Linked DNA regions of Homo sapiens: region 1 is linked to region 2. Evidence: promoter capture Hi-C in 16 types of primary human blood cells and fetal thymus (Javierre and others, 2016). All regions are on one chromosome and are shown on one strand. Each heading gives the region's core, a stretch centred on a gene start or on the middle of the fragment in contact. The rest is flanking DNA. Distances are from core to core; before and after follow the strand shown. Region 1 overlaps PPARGC1B (PPARG coactivator 1 beta). Region 2 holds the start of SLC26A2 (solute carrier family 26 member 2).

Region 1 (6,018 bases), core at 2,818-5,317, 140 kb after region 2:
AAGGGCCCCCAGAGATGAATAAAGTGTTGTTTGTCCCCAAGGACCTTGCAGTCTGAAGGACACACATGCGTGCAAGAGATGGGAGCCCATGAGAGGGACTAAGTGACCAACTGCCTTAGGAGGAGGCATCAGGAGAGCTGCGTGTCGAAGGATTCATTCAGTGGATGACTGTTAAGCCCTGACAAAGTGCCAGGCACTGTGCACAGCCCTGGGAATACAACCATGCACAATGCAGACACAGCCCACACTCAGAGTTTCCGATGGGCAGGGAGCAGGGGCTGGGGACAGGCCCCAGTCACATGCACAGAGGGTGCATCGGTGAGCAATGGATAGAGCTAGTCTAGTCTCAGGAGAGCTGGTGGAGTGTGCAGCCCATGAAAGGGAGAGGGGCTGGGAGGGCAGAGCTCAGCCAGCTGTGAGGACTGTCTTCCTTGCAGGACTGGGGCCGCACCAAGCTTACTTGTGCCTGAAAGCATTAGTAGGACCTCATCAGAAGCTTACTGGTGGGTCTGGCCATTTTCTGAGTAGGTGGGGGGCCTATACAGTCTCAGTGGGGATGGTTTTCAGGGAGCATCCAAACCCCTTTTCACTCATGAGTTCTCTGCAACCTAAAAGCATTTTCTGGAGTTGGCCCCCTAAGAGGAAAGGAACAATATAGCAAAGGAATTGTCCCCATTGTTCAAGCAAGAAAATGGAGGTCTCCGGTTGGAGCCAGAACTACAGTTTGGTTCTGGTAATTCCTCACAGGGTTGGCAAAGGGGTTCAGTGTAGCGGTGAGGGGTGTGGGTTCCTAGATTACAGTCTTTGCCTGGATCCTTACTAGCTGTTTGACCTTGGGCGAGTTACTCAGCCTTTCTGAGCTTCCCTTTCCTTGTCTGTAAAATCGATTATTAGGAGTACACAACTGATAGCTTCTCTTCCTCAGAGAGGCCTTTCCCGACCACTCAGTCCACAGTCCCTTCTCTATTTCCTTTCTGCCCTTATCACAAGTGACTGCTGTTTGTTCACATGTTTACAGACGGTAAAGTCCTCGGATGAACACAGTGCCTGACACATAGGGGGCTTGGTAAACGTTTCTAAAAGGATGATAAAATCCATGAGGAGGACGCTTGGAGAGGACGCTTGCGGCACACCACCTTGGTGTTCAGCACACGCGATGTTATTGTGGTTGTTATTATTATTATACTGCCAGACAGGCACAGGGAGCTATGGCTTCTGCCCCCAATCTTTATGAGGGAGAAAATTCCAAGAAAAGAATCATGAATCTGAATGTGTCCATCACCCAGCTAAATACGGCCAATCCAATTTCATCGATTACCCTCTAGGCCGCACACTCCCACCCACACATGCAAATCCATGCAGAGCTTGCTTTCTTCTGAAGCAAACCCCAGACATCATATTATTCCGTAAGAGGCCTTCTTACAGGAAATGCTAGCCATTACATGCCCCTGAGGCTGGGCGCTGGAGCACACAGGGCTGGGAGAGGCACATGCATAATAGTGGTTCTTGGCACTCCCTCTTATTAAAGAACCTCTAGGCTCCAGCTGAAAAAGGGAGATAATTGTATTTACAACTGAGAGTTGTTAAGAAATTTAAATGAATTAATATACACAAACAGGGACAGCTCTCCCACAGAACAGCTGCTCAATAAATGCCAGTCATCTCATTATGGTATCATCATGGTCGTAAAGTCCCGGCTCTGGAGGCAAGAAGACTGGGTTTGAATCCAGTTCAACTTCTGACTAGGTTAATTGCCCTAGGCACATGACTTAACTTTTCCAAGCCTCATTTTCCTTATCTGTAAAATGGGAAAATACTGGACCCTGTCTTGCAGGGTGGGGACGAAGACTGGATGAGATAATGTAGGGAACAGAGGACTTGGACCTCTGTGGCACACGAAGGGGCTTGGTTCTGCTCGGGAGGCCTAGAGAGCAGTTCATCTCACCCTTACTTTCTGGAGGTGACACAGCAAGGGCCAGGTGAGGCATGTGCGCTGCGCCAGATCAGGGGCCCATCCAGCACGAGAAACCGGGGCCCAACAGCTTTGGTGGGTGAGGGGATTTCTCTGCATGAGCAAGTGCAGGAGAAGGCAGAGCAGGGCAGAGCCGGGATTTTGAGGAGAGAGAGGCCTGGCAGGGTGGGAGGAGGGGAGACTGGAAAGGGCATACCTGGAAGAGCTCGGAGTCATCGGGGCTGTACTGGTTGGGTTCAGTCTCTGAGTTCTCTGGGCACCACTGCAGCTCCCCAAAGCAGGTGGCCGAGTCAAAGTCGCTGGCATCCAGCTGGGAGAGGTCAAGTTCTGGAAAGTCAGCATAGAGTTGCTCCTCCCCGGACCCTCCACCCTGAGGAGACAGGAAGGAAAGAGGTGGATCAGAGCTGAGGCTGGCTAGACCCAAGCAGGGGCCCTCTCAATAATGATGCAGCTAATCTGGACCCGTGGCCAAGGCCCGATTTTGCCAAATGACCAAGAAATGGAAAGATCAGCTTCACCCCTTGGTTGAATCTTCTGGTAGCTAAGCTAGGCCCCAGCAGTACAAAACCCCCTGCTGCTCTCCCCTCTGCACTCCTACATATCCCTCAAGGCCCTGCCCACATACATCTCTGTCCTCCTGTTACCAGAACTGTTTTGTTGAAAACTTTATTAAAGACTGTAAATAGAGGAGCTAATCCTTTACACATATGTCCCCACTTATAAGTGGACTTCTTAAAGCTAACAATGCCTCTATATTAATAATGAAACAAAAAACAGCAATAATAATGACTGACAGTATTGTGTGACTGCTAGGTTCTGGAGAAACACCCATTCATGTTCCCAGGAATTTTATAGGAATATATGTAATGTCTAAAATTACATATATGATGTAATATACGATGGAACATATATGATGAACATAAAATTACATATATGATATATGATGGAACACCAATCAATAGACAATATGTAAATAAAGCCATAAAACACCCGTATCACGGGCCGGGCATGGTGGCTCATGCCTGTAATCCCAACAATTTGAGAGGCCAAGGTGGGCGGATCATTCGAGGTCAGGGGTTCAAGACCAGCCTGGCCAACATGGCGAAAGCCCGTCTTTACTAAAAATACACAAATTAGCCAGGGGTGGTGGCGCATGCCTGTAATCTCAGTAACTTGGGAGACTGAGGCATGAGAATCACTTGAGCCCGGGAGGCGGACGTTGCAGTGAGCTGAGATCGAGCCACTGCACTCCAGCCTGGGTGACAGATGGAAACTGTCTCAAAAAAACGAAAAACAAACAAAAAAAAACAAAAACAAACAAACAAACAAACACCCATATCATGAAATACTACAGTGCTGTTGAAAAGAATGAGGAAGATCTGTGTGTTCTCCAAGACACATTAAATAAAAAAGTTGTAGAATACCAGCATGTAAAATATAACCCCACATGTGTAAAGAAAGTAAAAATCAAGCCATATATTTCTCTATGTAGGATAGCATGTATGCAAACACACAGGAAAAGATCTAGACGGTCATAAACCCACCTAACAGCAGTGAGTAGGGGAGAAGGGAGCCACAGGTGACTCTGATAACAGCATTGCCTGAATCAGTGGTTCTCAAAGTGTAGTCCCAGACGGGCAGCACCAGAATCACCTGGAAACCTGGTATGTTGGAAATAATATAAATTCTCAGGCCTAAACCCAGAGCTACTGAATCAGAAGCCAATCAATTTCTCACCCTGGTCTCCCCAGTTTAATGGTTACCAATAGAAGAACTGCCCTACAGATTCAGAAATAGCCTGAGTTGGGGGGCTGACACAGAAACAGAATGGCTTGGTGATGTTCTGTTGGCCCTGGGGCCTGGCAGAAGTGAGTTGAGATCCCCATTCACCAGTTGTGGACTTTGGGCAAGTCCCTTCATCTGTAAAACGTGGACAACAACAATATCTGCCTTATATGTTAAGATTAAAAGAGGCAATGTCATTATAGCCCGGCCTAGTAACTGCTCAATAAATGTCAGCTAAGAGTAATATAACAAATAATGATAATAATAATGATAAAACAATGGTATTTCATGGTAGGCAGAGAGGAGCGGGAACTTCTCAGAGAACAAAAAGAGGCATATGTGACACTTAAGAGAAACAGGTTTTCCCCAGACCTTTCCCTTAATTGTTCCCACTTACTAGGCCTCATAAATTATGAATAAATGTATATTATTAGCTCAACTTGACACAGGAAAAAGGCTTTTATCCAAATTTGGGTCAAATGTCTTAATTGGCATTTTGCAAGAATCCTGCCTACACAGGCGGCAACAGGCCCAGGTCCTCTCAAGCGGCCGGTCCCCTGTCCTCAAGCAGGCAGCAAGGTGCCCAGCAAGTCTGTCTCTGGGAGCATGGCCCCACCACCCTGCCCACCACCTGCCCATTCTTTCTCCAATCCACATGTATTCCACAATCCTCATTATTGAGAGCCCACTCACTCTGAGCCAGGCACTGTGATGGTGGGTGGGGAAGGATGACATTAAACAAATAATCACACAAACAAAACATGTAATTCTAAATCATGACTCTCCAGAGAAGAGCAGAACACTTCTGAACCTGATTGGGAATCTGAAGATGAGAGGGACACAGGTGCTTCCTCAATCTCTGGGTCCCCCAGGTACCGCTCTCCCCACAAGCCCAACTGTCATGCCCCCCAACTACAAATCACCAGCACTCAGTGGCTGCCCCTGCTGCGGGAACTCAGGTGGATTCTCTCAGCTGCCTCTTGGGAGCTTCTTTCTCCTTCGTGCCCAAGCAGACTGTGGGGATGCAGCCGTGGTCCTGTTCTACATGGATAATTGGTTTGTTTCCTGTTTTGGGCCATTTCTAGTAAGTCTGCAATACTTGCATACAAGTCTTGTTTGGACATATGTCTTTACTTCTCTTGGGTAAATACCTACGAGTGAAACTGTTGGGCCATATGGTAAGCATGTGTGTAAGTTTATAAAACAGAAAACTGTTTTCCACAATGAGAGAACACTCACTTTGTACACTCCCATCAGCTGTATGAGTTCAATTCTTCTGCACCCTCTCCAACACTTGGTATTGTCAGTCACTTTATTTTAGCCATTCTAGTGGGCATGTTCAATGCTACTATGAGCCAGGCACTGTGTTATATAAGACTCAGCTCCTTCCTCCGTGAGTTGACATCTTAGTGAGGGAAGAAAACATGTAAATATTTCATTCTAGACTGAGTTAGTGCTATGAAGGAGAAACAAACAAGGTGCACTGATGGAAGATAACAGGAAACAAAATCTATCTTTTCACGCTCTTTGTGTTTAGAGACAGGATCCTGCTCTGTTGCCCAGGCTAGAATACAACATGGCTTGATCACGACTCACTGTAGCCTCAACCCCTTAAGTTCAAGCAATCCTTCAACCTCAGCCTCCTAAGTAGCTGAGAGTACAGGTGTGCACCACCACACCTGGCTAATTTTTCTTTTTTAATTTTTTGTACAGACAGGGGTCTCTCTATGTTGCCCAGGCTTGTCTCATCCCACCTCAGCCCCACAAAGTGCTGGGATTACAGGTGTCAGCCACTGTGCCCAGCCCAGAATCTAAATCAGATGGAATGTCAGGAAAAACTTCTTGAAGGAGAAGCCAGGTAGTGGAAGAGGTGGGAAGAGCATTGCAGGCAGAGGGACAGTCAGAGGCAAAGACCCCCGTGGGGACTGAGCCCAAGGCACAAGGCGTTGAGGTCAGTGAGGCTGCAGCTTGGTGACCAGGGGTGGGGGATGGAGGAAATGGGAAAAGATGACACTAGAAAGGCTGGTGGAGGCTGGATCAGGAAGGGATTGGAAAGGATTTGGGTTTTACCCCAAGTGTGATGGGGGTAGGACCAGCATAGAAGCAGGGAGATGGTTTAACAGCTGTTGTAGCCATCCAGGAGGGGACAGGTGGTGGGTTGGGGAGGTACCTCTCAGACACCATCTAGGGACTGTGGGACACAAGGGAGGGCCAAAAGCAGAGACACGGGTTGCTAGGCAGCTGGGGCCTCCGAGGCCAGC
Region 2 (6,031 bases), core at 2,640-5,139:
CGCCACCACACCTGGCTAATTTTTTGTATTTTTAGTAGAGACAGAGTTTCACCGTGTTAGCCAGGATGGTCTCGAGCTCCTGACCTCGTGATCCGCCCGCCTCGGCCTCCTAAAGTGCTAGGATTACAGGCGTGAGCCACCACGCCTGGCTATTTTTTATTTTTATTTTTGAGATGGGGTCTCACTCTGTTACCCAGGCTGGAGTGCAGTGGCATGATCTCAGCTCACTGCAACCTCCACCTCCTGGGCTCAAGCGATCCTGAGTAGCTGGGATCACAAGTGCACGCCACCATGCCCAGCTATTTTTTTGTATTTTTTGTAGAGACAGGTTTTCGCCGTGTTGTCCAGGCTGGTCTTGAACTCCTGAGCTCAAGTGATCTGCCTGCCACGGCCTCCCAAATTGCTGGGATTATAGGCATGAGCAAAGGAAGAGCCCAGCCTGAACCTACATTTTTAAAGCACTATGCCTCTTCTTCAAAAGAAGCATTCATTAGCAAGATGAGGTCAACCATTTGGATATGCTCCCCAAAAATCTGCACTGGCTCCCTATCTCCTACCAAATATGGTCTAAAAACATTGGTATAAGCTTCTATGCATGAGCCTAAAACTGCCACTGTCTTGCTTCCTCCTATGCACTAGTGTTCCAATCACCAGTCCATGAAAATATCAAGCAGCCTTTGCCCTTGGGGCCTTTGCTCATTGCCCAACCTCAAATGACACCTTATATAAATCGGTCCCTTCCTAGATACAATATATAAAACAGAGGCCAGGCACAGTGGTTCATGTCTGTAATCCCAGCGCTTTGAGAGGCCAAGGCAGGAAGATCACTTTGAGGCCAGGAGTTCGAGACCAGCCTGGGTAACATAGCAAGATCTTGTCTCCACAAAAAAAAAAAAAAAAAAAAAAAAGTTAAACAAATATGCAAAATAGCAGGCCGGGTGCAGGGGCTCATGCCTGTAATCCTAGCACTTTGGGGGGCCAAGGCAGGTGGATCACCTGAGGCCAGGAGTTCGAGACCAGCCTGGCCAACATGGTGAAACCCCCTCTCTACTAAAAAATACAAAAAATTAGGCCAGGCGCGGTGGCTCACGCTTGTAATCCCAGTACTTTGGGAGGCGGAGGCAGGCGGATCACGAGGTCATGAAATTGAGACCATCCTGGCCAACATGGTGAAACCCCGTCTCTACTAAAAATAAAAAGATTAGCCGGACGTGGTGGCACATGCCTGTGGTCCCAGCTACTCAGGAGGCTGAGGCAGGAGAATCACCTGAACCTGGGAGGCAGAGGTTGCAGTGAGCCAAGATCACGCCACTGCACTCCGGCCTGGAGACAAAGTGAGACTCTGTCTCAAAAAAAGAAAAAAAAAAAAATTAGCCAGGCGTGGTGGCATGTGCCTGTAATCCCAGCTACTTGGGAGGCTGACAAAGGAGAATCACTTGAACCCAGGAGGCAGAGATTGCAGTGAGCCAAGATGGCGCCACCGCACTCCAGCCTGGGCAACAAGAGTGAAACTCCATCTCAAAAAATAAATAAATAAATAAATAAATAAATAAATAAATAAATATAGCACCACTGCCATTGCTGCCATTTCCATGTCTTCCTCCTGGGCCCAGCCCTGCCTTGCACTCCTATGCCCTTTATTTTTCTCCATAGCTCTTCTCACCATTCCATACCACACATTGTTAATTGTCTTTCACATGAGGGCACTGACTTGCTCTGTTTTGTTCAAAGCTGTATTCTCAGTGTCTTGAACATGTCTTGCACCTAATAAATGCTTAGCAAGTATCTGTTGAGTGAATTAGAATTTAACAGCTATATGATAAGGAAAAAGGAGTTACTTTCCCCATTCTCACTTAACTCTCCAACCCCACTCTTCCGCCCCCACATGCCAAAACCAAGCTTATGTCAAGAAATTAAGCTTGGCAAGCATCTGCCTGGGGGTTTACATTCACTAAAAGCGTGATTATCCTTCTGTCAATCATGGGGGAAAATAAAAAATAAAAGTGTGGGCAGGGCACAGTGGCTCATGCCTGTAATCCCAGCACTTTGGAAGGCCAAGGCAGGAGGATTGCTTGAGCTCAGGAGTTTGAAACCTGACTGGGCAACATGGTGAAACACCATCTCTACAAAAACTACAAAAACTAGCCAGGTATGGCAGCGTGCACCTGTGGTTCCAGCTACTCAGGAAGCTGAGGTGGAAGGTTTGCTTGAACCCACGAGGTCAATGCTGCAGTGAGCCTAGATCGCGCCCCTGCACTCCTAGCCCGGATGACAGAGTAAGACCTGGTCTCAAAAAAAAAAAAAGTCAAATCAGAAATTAAAAAAAAGTGATTTTTTTCCCTCAAAAATTACCCCTAGCCCAGAGTATGTTCACCTCTAGATCTTCCCCTAGGAGGCAGCACATTACAGTACAATAATTGTCAAATACAGAGAGCCGTTAGCTTCTTAGGACCATCCCTGCAAATCCAAGGATGAGATCCAGGACTCCACACGCTAGATGATGCTGAACGAGTGAGCTTAGGACCACACTTGGAGAATCACTGGATGTGTTCTGGAAGTCAAACAGATCTCTGTTCAGATCCCAGCTATACTGCTCAGCAGTCATATGGCAATGGTTTTGTAAAACTTCACTGTACTCAGCATCAATTTCTGACCTGTAAAATGGGGTAACATTACCTAACTTGCTGGTTTGTAAGGCTAACACAACTACCTACCACAGTGCCTGGCACATAGCATTTACTCAATAAACGACAGCTATTAGTCTCTGTCCCTTGCTATATCCTGCCTTGAGATTCCTGATTTTAAAGGGTCCATTCCTTTCCCACAGCTTTGGCCCTCCATTTCTTATTGATTCAATTTTCAAAAACAAAAAGTTCTGCTTAATCTAGTATTGCATATCACATTAGTTGTAGATTTCACATAAAGAACTGTTGGGGACAAGGAGAAAAGACAGGTTAACTAGAATGGGCGCCGGAAGGCAATTTAAGTTCTGAATGTTTCTAACTCACTGTGATCCCCAATCTGTGCAAGGAAGGAGCCCAGGCTGATAGTCTATGAGTTTGGAGAGCTGGGTACAAGTCCTAGCTCTGCAAAAGACTTGCTGTGTATTTTTAGGCAAGGCTCTGGGCCCTCTCTGTCTTCTCAGTGTTTCCATCCATCCAGTGAAATAATACCAACTTAGTGTGTGAGTCCGAAAGAACAGGTCCTGATTTTGTACTTAATCGGGTGTGTGATTTTTAATAACCAAGATAACCAAGCCGTCTCGCCTGTGCCGGCCTCAGTTTCCCCATCTGTCCGAGGTGGTGGTGGCTCCTATCTCCTCGATCCCTATTCCAGATATCTAGGTTCGAGACGGATCAACGAGGACTGGAAAAGCAGCGGAGTGCGTGGCACCCGGCGAGATACGGCGAGATACGCGGGATGGAGGGCGGGTGGGCAGCCGCCAGCCAGACGGGCAGGCCCGGATCACCAGGGTGCAGTGCCACTCGCCCGGCCCCGGACCACCCGGGAAATAACCTGACGCACGCCCCGCTCCACGGCGGCGACCCCTGATCTGGGATTCTACCGCGCGGGGACCCAGGCAGAATGACTCTGGGAGGGGCCCGCTGACCGCTTGGCGGCCAGCACCGCTCCCTCCCTCTTCCCTGGTCCGCTTCCCTCTTCTCACCTCTCGGGTCCGGGCCGCTGCAGGCAACCAGGCGCCGCGGCACGCGTCTTCCACCGTGGCCTGACTGAGGTGGACACCGCGGCGCCGACAGAGCTATACCTGCCTGTCCCTTTCCCCGCCCATCGCTCGGACTCCGAAGGAGGCGGGGCCCGGCTGCCGGGACCTACGGGCGCGGCGAGGACGCACCGGCGAAGAGATGCCGGAGGCAGAGCCAGTGTAAACGCCCGCGGCCGAGGCCGTCACGTGGTACTGCCGGGCGAGCGACGCTACCACCAGCCAATAACTCGGCCCAGACCGGGGAGGGTGCCGCCCTCTGACTACTCTCCTCCTCGCGATTGGCTGCCCTGGACAGAAGAGCACAAGCTGGAAGGATTCTTAGAGAGGTTCCGCCGCTGCTTCCGTGGCGTTGACTCCTCCGCGGAGAGAGCGGATGACCGGCCTCGGCGGCTAGCCTGTGGCCAGGGTGAAATAGCAGGAGAGGCGCGGAAGCGCTCTGCCCAGAGTTTTGAAGTGCTCAGCGTTTGCGATCGGCCACCTCTTTATCCAGTACTACTTGGGACCCCGTTCCCTCCCACCCGCCTTTGTAGAACGGGAAATTGAGGCCCCGAACGGGAAAAGAGCTCCTAGAATGTTAGAGGCTCTTGCCTCACTATAACTCATTCCCCATCAAAGATTCCAGTAACCGGAAGGCTAAAATGTAAATTAAAAGGCCGGGCGCAGCGGCTCACGCTTGTAATCCCAGCACTTTGGGGGACCGAGTAGGGAGGATCGCTTGAACCCAGGGGTTCGAGATCAACCTGGGCAGTATAGCCGAACCTTGTCTCTATAAAACATAAAATGTAAATTAAAATGTAATTGTAGTTTTTGTTAAAATCCTTAGTGGGTTTAATGGCATTTGTAGGTAAAATCAAACCCTCCCTATGCCAAGGTACTGTGTGCTTCGGGCACTCATCTCTGCCCCCCTCCCTCGCTGATCTCCACCCATACTGGCCCCCTTTGCTCGCCACGCTTGTTCTCTTTAGGGACCTAAACATTGGTTCTGGCCATCAGATTTCTTCTGGTCTCTCAGGTCTCAGCCAAAACACCAGCCCTCTCCATGGCGAGGCCGTCCCTGACCACCCTGTGTAAACTAGCCACAGCCAGTCACATCCTTTCAGGTCATCTTGATTTAATTATCTGCCTCGAACTGGCCACTATTGAGTATGTATTAATTTGTTCATTCCTCACCTTGTTTGTAGCTTGCATGTGCCCACTAGATGGGGGTGAAGGAGGGCCTGTGAAGGAAGCATGATTAACTTCCTTTCCTTCCCTTTCCGGTGAACGTCTTCACAGTCATTCAAGGAACTCCCTTTCTTATCTAGAGATGATCCCCAAGTTTCTGTCACCCATCAGATTCAGAGTTTCCAAAACGTCATAAGCTGTCTTGGGAATCAGAACACAAACACTTGGGTTCTACTCCTGATGCTGCCCCTTGTGGCTGAAGACAAATCATTTCACCTCAATGGGCATCAATGTTTTCACCTTTCAAAGGGTAGTTAATGCCCTAGCACCCAGAGTCCTGGAGAGGGTCAGGTAAGGCAATCAGTGTAAAGTACTTTGTTTAAGCCCTAAAGACTGCACAACAAGCAGAATAAACAGTTTCTGGATGTTTATCACGTGCCTGCGCAGAACTCTTCACATTCATTACATGAGTTAATCCTCACAACAGCTTTAGAGGAGGTGCCATATTATGATTCTTCTTTTTTTTGGTGAGGAAATGAGGCTCAGAGATGTTAGGTGATCTGCCCAACGTCCCACAGTTAATAAGTGACAGTAGCATGATTTTAACACAGTCACGTCTGACTGCAAAGCCCACTCTTAACCACTACACTCACTGTGCTATGCAAATGCAAGAATCCACTCCAATCCTTGCAGCTGACATTTATTCATTTATTTGTTTGTTTTCTTGTCTGTGTGGGGAAGCCAGGACCTTGCATATAACAGGCACCAATAAAGATTGGCCAAATTTGGCCGGGCATGGTGGTTCATGCCTATAAGCCACTTGAGCTCAGGAGTTAGAGACCAGCCTGGACAACATGGTGAAACTCCAACTCTACCAAAAATAGAAAAAAGTAGCCAGGCATGGTAGCATGTGCCTGTAGTCCCAGCTACTCAGGAGGCTGGGGTGGGAGGACAGCTTGAGCCCAGTAGACAGAGGTTGCAGTGAGCCGAGATCGTGCCACTGCACTCCGGCCTGGGTGACAGAGTGAGACCCCATCTCAAAAATAAAAACAAAAGCAAAAATAAAAAACCAGACCAGTCAAATTTAATACTGCCTATCATTCTTTGATTTTATTTCATACATATTCATCTGCATCACAGACG

The links. The method cuts DNA at HindIII sites, captures the fragments that hold promoters and counts their contacts. A CHiCAGO score of 5 or more calls a contact.
Region 1: a contact is called between a fragment that was not itself captured here and the fragment with the promoter of SLC26A2 in region 2, in 1 of 17 cell types (erythroblasts). The highest score is 5.5, in erythroblasts.

Annotation. Positions count from the first base shown.
Region 1 is chr5:149,816,757-149,822,774 of GRCh38, reverse strand. PPARGC1B (PPARG coactivator 1 beta) reads right to left here. Exons shown (of 12, transcript NM_133263.4): 2 at 2,169-2,342. Among named protein-coding and RNA genes, the nearest start is that of MIR378A, 87 kb to the right of the region's middle. RefSeq lists an enhancer at 3,084-3,600. The HindIII fragment of the contact is 7,137 bases long and covers 499-6,018 here.
Region 2 is chr5:149,958,616-149,964,646 of GRCh38, reverse strand. It overlaps SLC26A2 (solute carrier family 26 member 2), which reads right to left and starts at 3,889. Exons shown (of 3, transcript NM_000112.4): 1 at 3,668-3,889. RefSeq lists a silencer at 3,834-3,953 and enhancers at 4,994-5,073, 4,870-5,473. The HindIII fragment of the contact is 4,280 bases long and covers 1,921-6,031 here.